2 separate regions of the Homo sapiens genome follow, and region 1 is linked to region 2. The links are contacts of gene promoters, found by promoter capture Hi-C in blood cells and fetal thymus (Javierre and others, 2016). All regions are on one chromosome and are shown on one strand. The core of a region is centred on a gene start or on the middle of the fragment in contact, and the rest is flanking DNA. Distances in the headings are between cores, read along the strand shown.

Region 1 (5,004 bases), core at 187-2,686, 350 kb after region 2:
AGGCGTTAACCTCTCAGGGCAACTTAGAGGCGCTCTTCTTTCCTGGAGGGGGAAAAAAGGAAAAAGACTATTTGTTTCTTGGTGGGAAAATGACCCTGAAAGAAAGTTGACTCTTTATTTTTATTTATTTTTTTTTTTGAGACGGAGTTTTGCTCTTGTCGTCCAGGCTGGAGTGCAATGGCGCGATCTTGGCTCGCTGTAACCTCTGCCTCCTGGGTTCGAGAGATTCTCCTGTCTCAGCTTCCTGAGTAGCTGGGATTACAGGCACCCGCCACTACTTTTAGTAGAGATGGGGTTTCACCATGTTGGCCACGCTGGTCTTGAACTCCTGATCTCAGGTGATCAGCCCACCTCAGCCTCCCAAAGTGCTGGGATTACAGGCGTGAGCCACCGCCCCCAGCTGACTCTTTTGTAATAAAGAGCTGGAACAAATTGATGGTTCTTTATGACTAGATGTGCCACATACTCTGTAACTAAGTTAAATTGCATGCGGTTTCTTCTCTTGGAACTAGGAAACCTGTCTCACATCTCCTCATTACTTTTATTAACAGCTGACTTTAGTCTCAAAGCTTCTTTGCTTACTGAGAAAAGACTGCATGCACCAAAATTAATAAGCACCCTCATTCTTGGTCATCTCTTACAGTATTACCCAGTTAGGGTTACATGTCAGGTTTTCCATTTGCTGCTGTGGCTTGGTCTGTTTGGGATTTGTACTACTAAGAAATTCCTTTTGATGAAAGAGCAGAGTGGTTTTTAAAAATCAGTCATTTCATCTTTTTTTTTTTTTTAATGTTACTTTCTGTTTTTAAAGTTTATTTTATTTAAACAGTTGTTTTTTTTGTAGAGGTGGGGGAATCTTCCTATGTTGCTTAGGCTGGTCTCAAAATCCTGGCCTCAGGCCATTCCCACCTTAGCCTCTGGAGTAGCTAGGACTACAGGCCCTTACCACTACATCCAGCTAATTTTAAAAGTTTTTACTTTGTAGGCCAGGCACGGTGGCTCACGCCTGTAATCCCAGCACTTTGGGAGGCCGAGCCGGGCAGATTACCTGAGGTCGGGAGTTCGAGACCAGCCTTACCAACAAGGAGAAACCCTGTCTCTACTAAAAATACAAAAAAATTAGCCGGGCATGGTGGCCCATGCTTGTAATCCCAGCTACTTGGGAGGCTGAGGCAGGAGAATTGCTTGAACCCGGGAGGCGGAGGTTGTGGTGAGCTGAGATTAAGCCATTGCACTCTAGCCTGGGCAACAAAAGCAAAACTCCTATCTCAAGAAAAAAAAAATTTTTTTTTTAACTTTGTAGACACGGGATATTGCTATGTTGCCCAGGCTAGTCTTGAACACCTGGACTTAAGCAGTCCTCCTCCTACCTTGGCCTCCCAGTGCACTGGGATTACAGGCGTGAGCCACCGTGCTCAGCCACTTTCTCTCTTTTTTTTTTTTTTGGAGATAGGGTATTGCTCTTTCCTCCAGAGCTGCAGTGCAGAGGTGTGATCACAGCTCACTGTAACTTTGCACTCCCTCCTGTCTTAGCCTCTCAAATAGCTAGGACTACAGGAACGCACCACTGTGACTGGCTAATTAAAAAAAAATTTTTTTTTTTTTTTTGTAGATATGGGGTCTTCTCAAGTTGCCCAGATTAAAAGAAATGTGTTTCTAAAATGTCCAAAGAGGTTCACATTTGCAAAGGAACTCACTCATTTGTTCTAATGCATTTTCTTACATTAGGTGTAATTGAAAAGTGATCCTCTCTTCAGAGATGTCAAAAACAAACAAATCCAAGTCTGGATCTCGCTCTTCTCGCTCAAGATCTGCATCAAGATCTCGTTCTCGTTCATTTTCGAAGTCTCGGTCCCGAAGCCGATCTCTCTCTCGTTCAAGGAAGCGCAGGCTGAGGTAAGGGGGTGTGACTTTGTATATTGAGATAATCATTGCATCAGTCGATGTGGATGTTTGAAGATCTTTTGTTAGACTTTTCCTGTGAGTGTCAAATGGACTGGGGGGTTGGCTTGAGGTGCAGGGTTGGGCTATAAGATATTCCAGGTCTCTTTAAACTACAAATCCAGATCAGCTTTGACTGCCATGCTGATTGCCTGATTCCTTTCCTCTGCCAGCACATAGTATTTCCCACCCACTTTGGAAGAAAGAACATTTTATTTTTATTTGAGCTGCTTGCTTCAAATCTCTATAGCTGATTATTTTTCACCAAATTATTTTTGAAGGCTTGAACCAAAGTTTATGTGCATCACTGCAAAGAAAGGATAGCTAAGAGGATTAATAATATGAACAACATGGCAAGGAAAAGAAGCTTCAACTCACTAAAATAAACTTACAGAAACTTATCAGGAGTAATTTGTATACAATGTGCCAATTACTAACAAGCTGCATCTGTTTAGTAAATGTATCTTAAAACTTTTTAAAAATCGCTATTGAAAACATCACTTTATCTTACTGAATATGAGCACAGTTCTTTTGAATTTATTGCCAGTATTTCCTAATTCAGTCAGTTTTCACACCTTCAGGTGGATTTCCCTATTTTAATTATGTCTTGGAATAGGATGCCAAACCTCCAGCGTCTTTCCTCTCTTGGTGTGTTGTGAGTTGGATTTTTCATTCTTTAAAAGTGTTTAAACTTTCTTTTGTGGATAGATAAGAAGCTTTCAGTAAATAACAAGTTTCTATATGTGAGTTTGGGAAATATTGGTGTATTTAAATTGGTGTGCTGAAGAGGAATCTTTGTACATTTTCATTCTTTTTCCCACAAGTACATTAGCAAGGAGATGATTTGTCATGTTTGACACTTGGAACCCCTGCTGTTTATTTCAGATGAGTATCTAGAATCCTTGTCTTAGATGAATTGATTAGCTGTTTATTTCAGATGAGTATCTAGAATCCTTGTCTTAGATGAATTGATTACGACATTTAAAATAAACCTCAGAAGTCAGTGATTAAACTTTTACTCTTGATGATTTCCAGAGCCCTATAGTACTTCTAAGGGGTCTATTAAACAAAGGATTAGTAGTTTTGTTTTTTTACCATTTAACAAAAACAAGGTAGATATTAAATGGAGTCTATGAGAAGCCAGCCTGAAAAAGCAGGTATGCATAAATATTGAAAAGGGAAACCCTAAATTTATTTACCTCAGGAAATTGCTTTTAAAGCCATGGGACCAGCAAGACTCTTAGTAACTCCTACCCTGTACCCAGAATCTTGATTTAGGGAGTTTAAACCTCAGTTTTAGCTCATTTGGTTATGAAAGATACCTTTTTAAAATTTAATCTAGTAACTAGAAGAAACTAAATAATTGGTTCAACACCAAGAGGCTATGCAACCAAAACTGAGAGACAAAATTGAATTGAAAAATGTTAACCAACTCTGAAGTATTTATGACAGCTGGAATTCCGGGCAGTTCTTTTCTCCTTGTTCTGCAAATCATTTGGCACTTGCTCACTGACTTGGCAAATGAGGAAAAAATATTTTAGGAAGGCAGTATGTGCTGGGGTAGGTCTAGAGACACTTTACATGCTATCATATACCTAGAAGAGACTTTTCTGGAGGAATTTCTCCACTAGAAAGTATGCTTTTATAATTGATTGTAATCTGACTTCTCTGTTTTTAGAAACAGATAAATTTGCCACTGGATGTTCAGTTTTTATTTCTGGCTTATCTGTTTCATGGTTTTTTCTTTTGTTTTCCCTCTCCTGCAAGGAAAGTATCTATCCAGAGAGTTTGAGAAACCATGCCTTTAAATTAACTAACTGCTGAGTTCTACAGAATTGGAGAAAATTGATTATTTCCTTGTATTTCACAGACTGTATCCTTTTAAGTGACATCTCTTAAATAACTTCATTTGCAATCTGCAGAGACTCATTTTCCTGCATCTGTGCAATGACTGTGAGTTTTGGATGCAGTATGCCCAGGGCCCTCACTAGTAATTGGTAACAGAAGCAGCAGTAGCCTGTGAGGATGGGAACATGAATTAAACCCTCCTTAGTGCTGGTGGTGGATCACCTCCCTCAAGCATAGCCCTTTAATCGGGTTGTATTCACTTTCATAATCTGCATCTGCCTCTCCCTTCTTTTCTTATATTGTTACTGTTTTCAAATGAAAAGTGTGGAAGGTAAGTTTTTTTTTAATTGTACTTAATTACAATAACAACCAGCAGTAAGATATATCTTTGCCAGTTGCTCTTATTCATGGTGTAGATAAAAAAATCTGAGTACAGTGGGCAATAAATAGTGGAAAACCAATCCCACTTTATCTTTAGATTAAATTGAATGTACTTTCTTCTTAAAAATACTGTTTTGTTTAGTTGTTAAATCCTGAAAAGAAACTAGTATATTTGCTAACTGGAGTTATTTGGAAAAAACAAAAATGCATCTGTTCCCAGTCAGATATGAGAAAGCCTGCTGATTAACTGAAGAGTTTTTATTCTATATGTAAAGAAAATATTATTTGAAAGAGTTTTCTAGTAAATTTTACTTATTTGTAGCCAGCTGCTTAGGAGTAGTGGTTAATGTCAATGATCTATATCATAGTAGATAGGAAAAGTGGATCCAAGAACCCCAATGGGTTTTTACACCAACATACGTAATTTTTGGCTTTTTGATGGAAACAAAGTTTCTCATCATTGACAAGCCTGACACTCAGGAATGTACAGTTAGGTTACTATCAAGTCTCTGTGGTTCTGGAAATTCATCTTGCTCTACCAGAGTTATATATTGTTAAATGGAGAAGAACACAACACTAGCCTTCTGTGCACACCGGGGTGGGGGTGTTTTTTAGTTACTCTTTGCTAACTTCATGCGTCCTTGGGTACTTTATGGTCCGATAGTGCCCTCTTGTGGCACCTAGTTAAGATCATGTAGCTCAGCCACAGAAATATGACCTAAGTAGTCAGACCATTTCCATTTTAAAAAACAATATTTTATGTTTTGCTTATGTGATTTTAGTAAGTTCTTTTAAGCTTTGAGCAGATGCATTCTCCCAAGTTTTCTTTGGTGT
Region 2 (5,213 bases), core at 114-2,613:
ATTGTTTAATATTATATGGTAAGTACTTTAAAATGGTAAATAGTAAATACTTGTGTTATTCACTAACATTTGGGGAGGATTTTCTCTGTGCTTTATGTATATTACCTAACCTTACAAACTGTGTAAGGTACATGCTGTTCTCTCAATTTTTCAGATAAGAAAATTGAAGCCCAGAGAGATCAAGTGACTGATCCAAAGTCCCACAGTGAGGGGAACTGAAGATAGGATATTCTTTCTCCTTTTCCTCTTTAAAAAATTATTTTGATTAAAAAAAACCGTATTACTGAAGCATAGGGACATGGGGAGAAATTATGAATGATTCCTCAGCCTGAATAAAATAGTATGTTTCATTAAGGCAACAAATATTTATTAAGGACCTAATATTTGCCTGACATTCAAGTGAGGTGGGGGGCACACAAGTAGTAAATAAATAACAGACTGGGCAAAGGGCTACCAAGGCAATACTGTAGTAGACTAACAGGTGCCCCACCATAGATGGGTGGTCCGGAAAAGGCGTCTCAGATGTCTTTCGTTGAGACGCAAAAAAAAGCTGTGGGGTAGGGCGTAAGGGGAGGGTGGAGAAGAGAGAGAGGGTTCCTGGCCAAGGGAACCAAAAGCAGAGAAGCTCCAAGTCAGAAAAAAGCAGCGGTTGGCCCGTTGGGAGAATTGGAAGCCAACCAGTATAGCTGTAGCACAGGCGGGGCCCATTTACGCCGTGCGTTTTCACCCTGGAAAGGAGTTTGGGTTTTCAAGTGTGACGAGGCGCTATTAAAGAGTTTTAAACATGGAAATTACTCGATCTGATGTTTGTGTAGTGTCCTGTTTGTTAGTCATCTTTTCCAAACTATAATACATTTTTTTTTTCCTAAAAATGGTCGTTAAAGCAGCCTAGGACTTAGGTCAATTGCGGTGGTCACTTGACCGCCTGTGAGGAGGCGGCGCGTGGGGTGGATCGGACTGGGCGTGGCGGGGGCTCAGGAAGGAGGGTGGCCCTACCCCAGCGGGCTCGGCTCGGGGCCTCCGCGGCAGTTCGGGGTCCTTCACCCGCCGGCTCCAGGTAGGCTACTCCTCAGGTAAGCCCCGCCGCCAGCCGCGACGTCGTCGCAGACAGGCACCGCCCCCACTCGTGCGGCGCGAGTAGTCCTGCCCCTCCGCGTTGTCTCCGGCCGGCACGGCCCGGCGGGGTACGGCCGAGCCCGCCGCATGTGGCCCGGCTCCCGGACACCTCCCCGGCGTCCTCCGCGCCGGCCGCTCCTGCCCCGACGTCGCTCCGGCACGGCTCGGGGCCCAGAGGCGAGGCGAGGACGCCGGGCAAGCCAGGCAGCGGAACTGACGCCGGCGAGCTTCCGGGGCGGCCCCGGGCAGGTCGGCGGCGGCGGCCCGCAGTCGTGGAGGAGCGGTGGGAGCGTCGGCGGCCGCGGGCGATGCAACTTCCGGACGGGACTCCCCTCTGTCCGCGCCTCACATCTCCCCTTCCTCTCGCCTAGTCCTGTGCCGTTTTCCGTCCGCGACTCTTCCGGCCCAGAGCTTTCGGAGTGCGGTTGCTCAGGGGAAGCCGTCGCCGCCCCCGCCTCGGGGCCGAGTGAGAGTGCCCGTCGCGTCGCGCCGCGTCGCCCCCCGGGCCGCCTCCTTGCCGCCAGTGGCGGGCTCCGTTCTCCCTCGAAGCACTCCCCCCAGCTCCATGAATGGAAATCGGCTCCGCAGGTGAGTCAGAGTAGCTGGGCCAGGTAGGGGATGTCACCCAGCTACTGTCCTCTGAGCATCCCTGCTCCTCCCGCCCGGCCCAGGTGCGCGAGGTGAGCGTCGGGCGGGCATCGCTCGGTCTCCCGCCCCTCGCCCTGCTCCTCCGCGACCTCCCCGCAGCCCAGCCCCAGTTCCCCGGGGGCCCCTGAGTCGGCGAAACTGCGAGGCGGGGAAACGCTTGGAGGATTTAAGTTTGGGGTTATCTAGGCGGCATTACTCTTTGCTGGAGTACCCTTCTTCTAGACTTTAGAATGGTTTGCCATTGTCTAGTTGGAGTGCGTGTCCTTTAGCCAGGTTGTGTGTTCCGTAGAGGCTGGGCAGCCAGCCAGCTCCCTTACCTACCTCTTAGGATAGTTGTGAAGATAGGCTGAGATAACGGATAACTTCAGATTAAGTTCGAAGGAGGTGTTGGTGCAACGTTAAATTCAACATGGCATTGCTCCTACCCTCGAGTTCTTTTCTGTTGTTTGTGGCAGCATGGTAGATAGTTTCTGAGGAGCTTGGAAATGTCATAGCAGCCTGGATCCCTGCTTATACGAGGAGGTGGTTCTTAAAATTGCTGACAGTATATTTTTTTTCATTCTCTATTCCTTAGAGAAGTAGTTGTCATATTCCTGGAAATTTGGAATTTAAGAAAACTGCTTTATCTCTGGGGGCAAGAGCAGCAGTTTTGCAGTCTTAAGAGAAAATTGCAACATGGATAGTACTTGTCCTTAAAAAAGGAAAAGTATTGTTTATGGTTCTAAAGTAATTAATTCAGGGACAGAAAGGTGTTGCATAACGGTTTGCCTAACAAATGATCATGCTTGGCTTATTAAATTTGAAAGTATGCTTCAGACGATCACAAGTTCGTAAATTAATTTTCAAAATATTTGCGGGGCTGTCTTGTTACTAATGGTGTTACAAGTTCCTGAATTCCATATCTCTTTTTGCCAATTTGATATAAGAAAAACTTACGTAAAAGAAACCAGTGACATAACGATAGCTAAGAACTTTGTTGAATAGATTACGTGTCAAATGGTTGCAAAAAAGCACTCAAACTGGGGAGATGAGATGGGGAGAGAGTTACAAATTTTTTTTTTTTTTTTTTACAAATTTTGTTACATGGAAGTTTCTCTAATCAATTTAGACCATATCTCTTTTTCCTGCTCCATTGTTTCGCTTTCCCCCATATCGTCTTAAAAGGTCTGTCTGGATTGTGAAAAGATTTCGACTCTTATTCAGTTTTGATTTGTGTATTTCTGAAACTGTCCTGCCCTTTTAAAAAAATTACCATACTACTGTTTTACTGTACAGGAGATGTGATTATTTGGGACCATAGGTGATCTTTGTACATAACTGTCCTGTTGTCAAGTCTGGAAAACAAGTCATGAAGGTCAGACCCTTTATTAATCATCCCAAAACTTTTAAAGATATTTCAAAAAAGTTTTTAAAGTTTTTTCTTTTTCTCCTTAGGGTTTTTCATATGATATTGTGCCCATATATATGGGAAATGTCTTAGAAAACATTTGTTACATCAAACCACCTAGTCAACTGGTACAACTAAGCCAAGTACAGCTCAGAAAATACATTTTACCTCTTCTTTTTTGGGTGTCCCATTGCTGAAATGGATACCCATTTAGCTGTCTTCACATTTGGGGAAGTGTGTAGTTAGATTATCAACTATATGCCTGGGTCTCTTGAAAAGTAAAGTTTTTTCTTCAGTACAGTTTATACATGATTGAATGTAGCCTAATAATGAAGATAAGCTATACTTTGGCTCAAGATTGTCATCAGAAACAAAATTTTCATTATTCCTGAGACTTGTATATAATTGGTATGCTTAGCTTTAAGTTGAAAGCATAGCTGTGCAACTAAATTTTAAATCCATAATTTAGGCTGGGTGTGGTGGTTCATGCCTGTAATCTCAGCACTTTGGGAGGCTGAGGAAGGATGATCGCTTGAGCCCAGCAGTTGGAGACCAGCCTAGGTAACATAGTGAGACCTGCCTCTACAAAAAACAGAAAACTTAGCCGAGAATTGTGGCACATGTCTCCAGTCCTAGCTACTTGGGAGGCTGAGGCAGGAGAATGGATTGAGCCCAGAAGGCAGAGATTGCAGTGAGCTATGATCGCGCCACTAACTCCAGCCTGGGTGACGGAGCAAGACCCTGTCTCAAAAAAAAAAAAAAAAAAAAAAAAAAAAAAAATCATCATTTGACACGTATTTTGATTTTAAAATTTTAGTATAAATGTTCTCAAAAAGTCTATTGACTCAGTATTGAATCTTGGCTTTCCAATTCTGCCATAAGTTTTTCTTTTTTGTGGAGATTCTCAGGAATCATCTTGTGATAGGATATTTTAAATTCTAGTTGCTCGGTGGATACACAGAAAACTGTTAAATTTGTTTACATTAGGGAACCTCGAACACAAATACCATATAAGTTAGTATTTGTTCTTTCATATGAAATATTTTAAATGCTTTTTAAGGATATCTTGTGCAATCTACTGATTTAGTACCATCAGAACTTTGATTTAACAAAAAAAAAGGTGAAATTAGTTAAAAATTAATCAACAGTTTAACATCTGTGTCTGTGACTCTTTAGTTGGGGAACATCTGATGAAACACCGTTTTTTATGGTCTAATTACTGCTGAACTAAGAGTATAGGTTATGTTTCAGTTCTAAATAAAGTGGGAATAGGGAGCTGCAGAAATGCTTGATGATGTTACTTCTCCTGAGTACTCATTTTTTAGGTCCATACTATTCTAGTCTATGTTTTCAGGTAATGTTAGACTACCGTTTAGGACAGAGGAACTACACTTTATAATGGAAGAAAAACATTTACTTTTACCTTAAATTAATGACATGCAAATTGTTTGATGTTTGGTGGAAGTTTTATACAGTCTTGCAAAAGTGAATAGACTGTTTCTTTCTTATTTACACTTTTAAATTCATGTCTGAAAATAGTTGTTTTAGAGTTCTGTGTTTATTTAATAATAAAAGTTTTAGAAAAGTTATTTGGAACCAAGTTCCAAAGGAATAAAAGTTGCATATATGGGAAGCTAGAACTAAATCAAGATTGGGATTTGAATGATGTAGATAAAAATTATGGGTCAAAAATACCTACTAAAATATGTAATGCCATCAGGGTCCCAATTTAGTATTTAAAACAATCTTCTTTTTATTTATTTATTTTTTTTGAGATGGAGTCTTGCTTGCTCTGTCGCCTAGGCTGGAGTGCAGTGGCATGATATTGGCTCACTGCAGCCTCTGCCTCCTGGGTTCAAGTGATTCTCTTGTCTCAGCCTCCCGAGTAGATGGGATTACAGGCGCGCACCACCATGCCTGGCTAATTTTTTGTATTTTTAGTAGAGACGGGGTTTCACCATGTTGGCCAGGCTGGTCTTGAACTCCTGACCTCAGGTGATCTGCCTGCCTCGGCCTCCCAGAAAACAATCTTCTTTAATAACTTTGAGAAATGTTTTTGTCG

What was found. The method cuts DNA at HindIII sites, captures the fragments that hold promoters and counts their contacts. A CHiCAGO score of 5 or more calls a contact.
Region 1: a contact is called between a fragment that was not itself captured here and the fragment with the promoter of AGO3 in region 2, in 1 of 17 cell types (monocytes). The highest score is 5.0, in monocytes.

Annotation. Positions count from the first base shown.
Region 1 is chr1:36,280,805-36,285,808 of GRCh38, forward strand. THRAP3 (thyroid hormone receptor associated protein 3) reads left to right here. Exons shown (of 12, transcript NM_005119.4): 3 at 1,729-1,896. The coding sequence starts at 1,760. Among named protein-coding and RNA genes, the nearest start is that of SH3D21, 23 kb to the right of the region's middle. The HindIII fragment of the contact is 1,739 bases long and covers 568-2,306 here.
Region 2 is chr1:35,929,742-35,934,954 of GRCh38, forward strand. It overlaps AGO3 (argonaute RISC catalytic component 3), which reads left to right and starts at 1,364. Exons shown (of 19, transcript NM_024852.4): 1 at 1,364-1,704. The coding sequence starts at 1,686. It overlaps AGO1 (argonaute RISC component 1), which reads left to right. Exons shown (of 19, transcript NM_012199.5): 19 at 1-791. RefSeq lists enhancers at 980-1,503, 1,504-2,028, 2,029-2,551 and silencers at 1,007-1,516, 1,527-1,866. The HindIII fragment of the contact is 14,155 bases long and covers 1-5,213 here.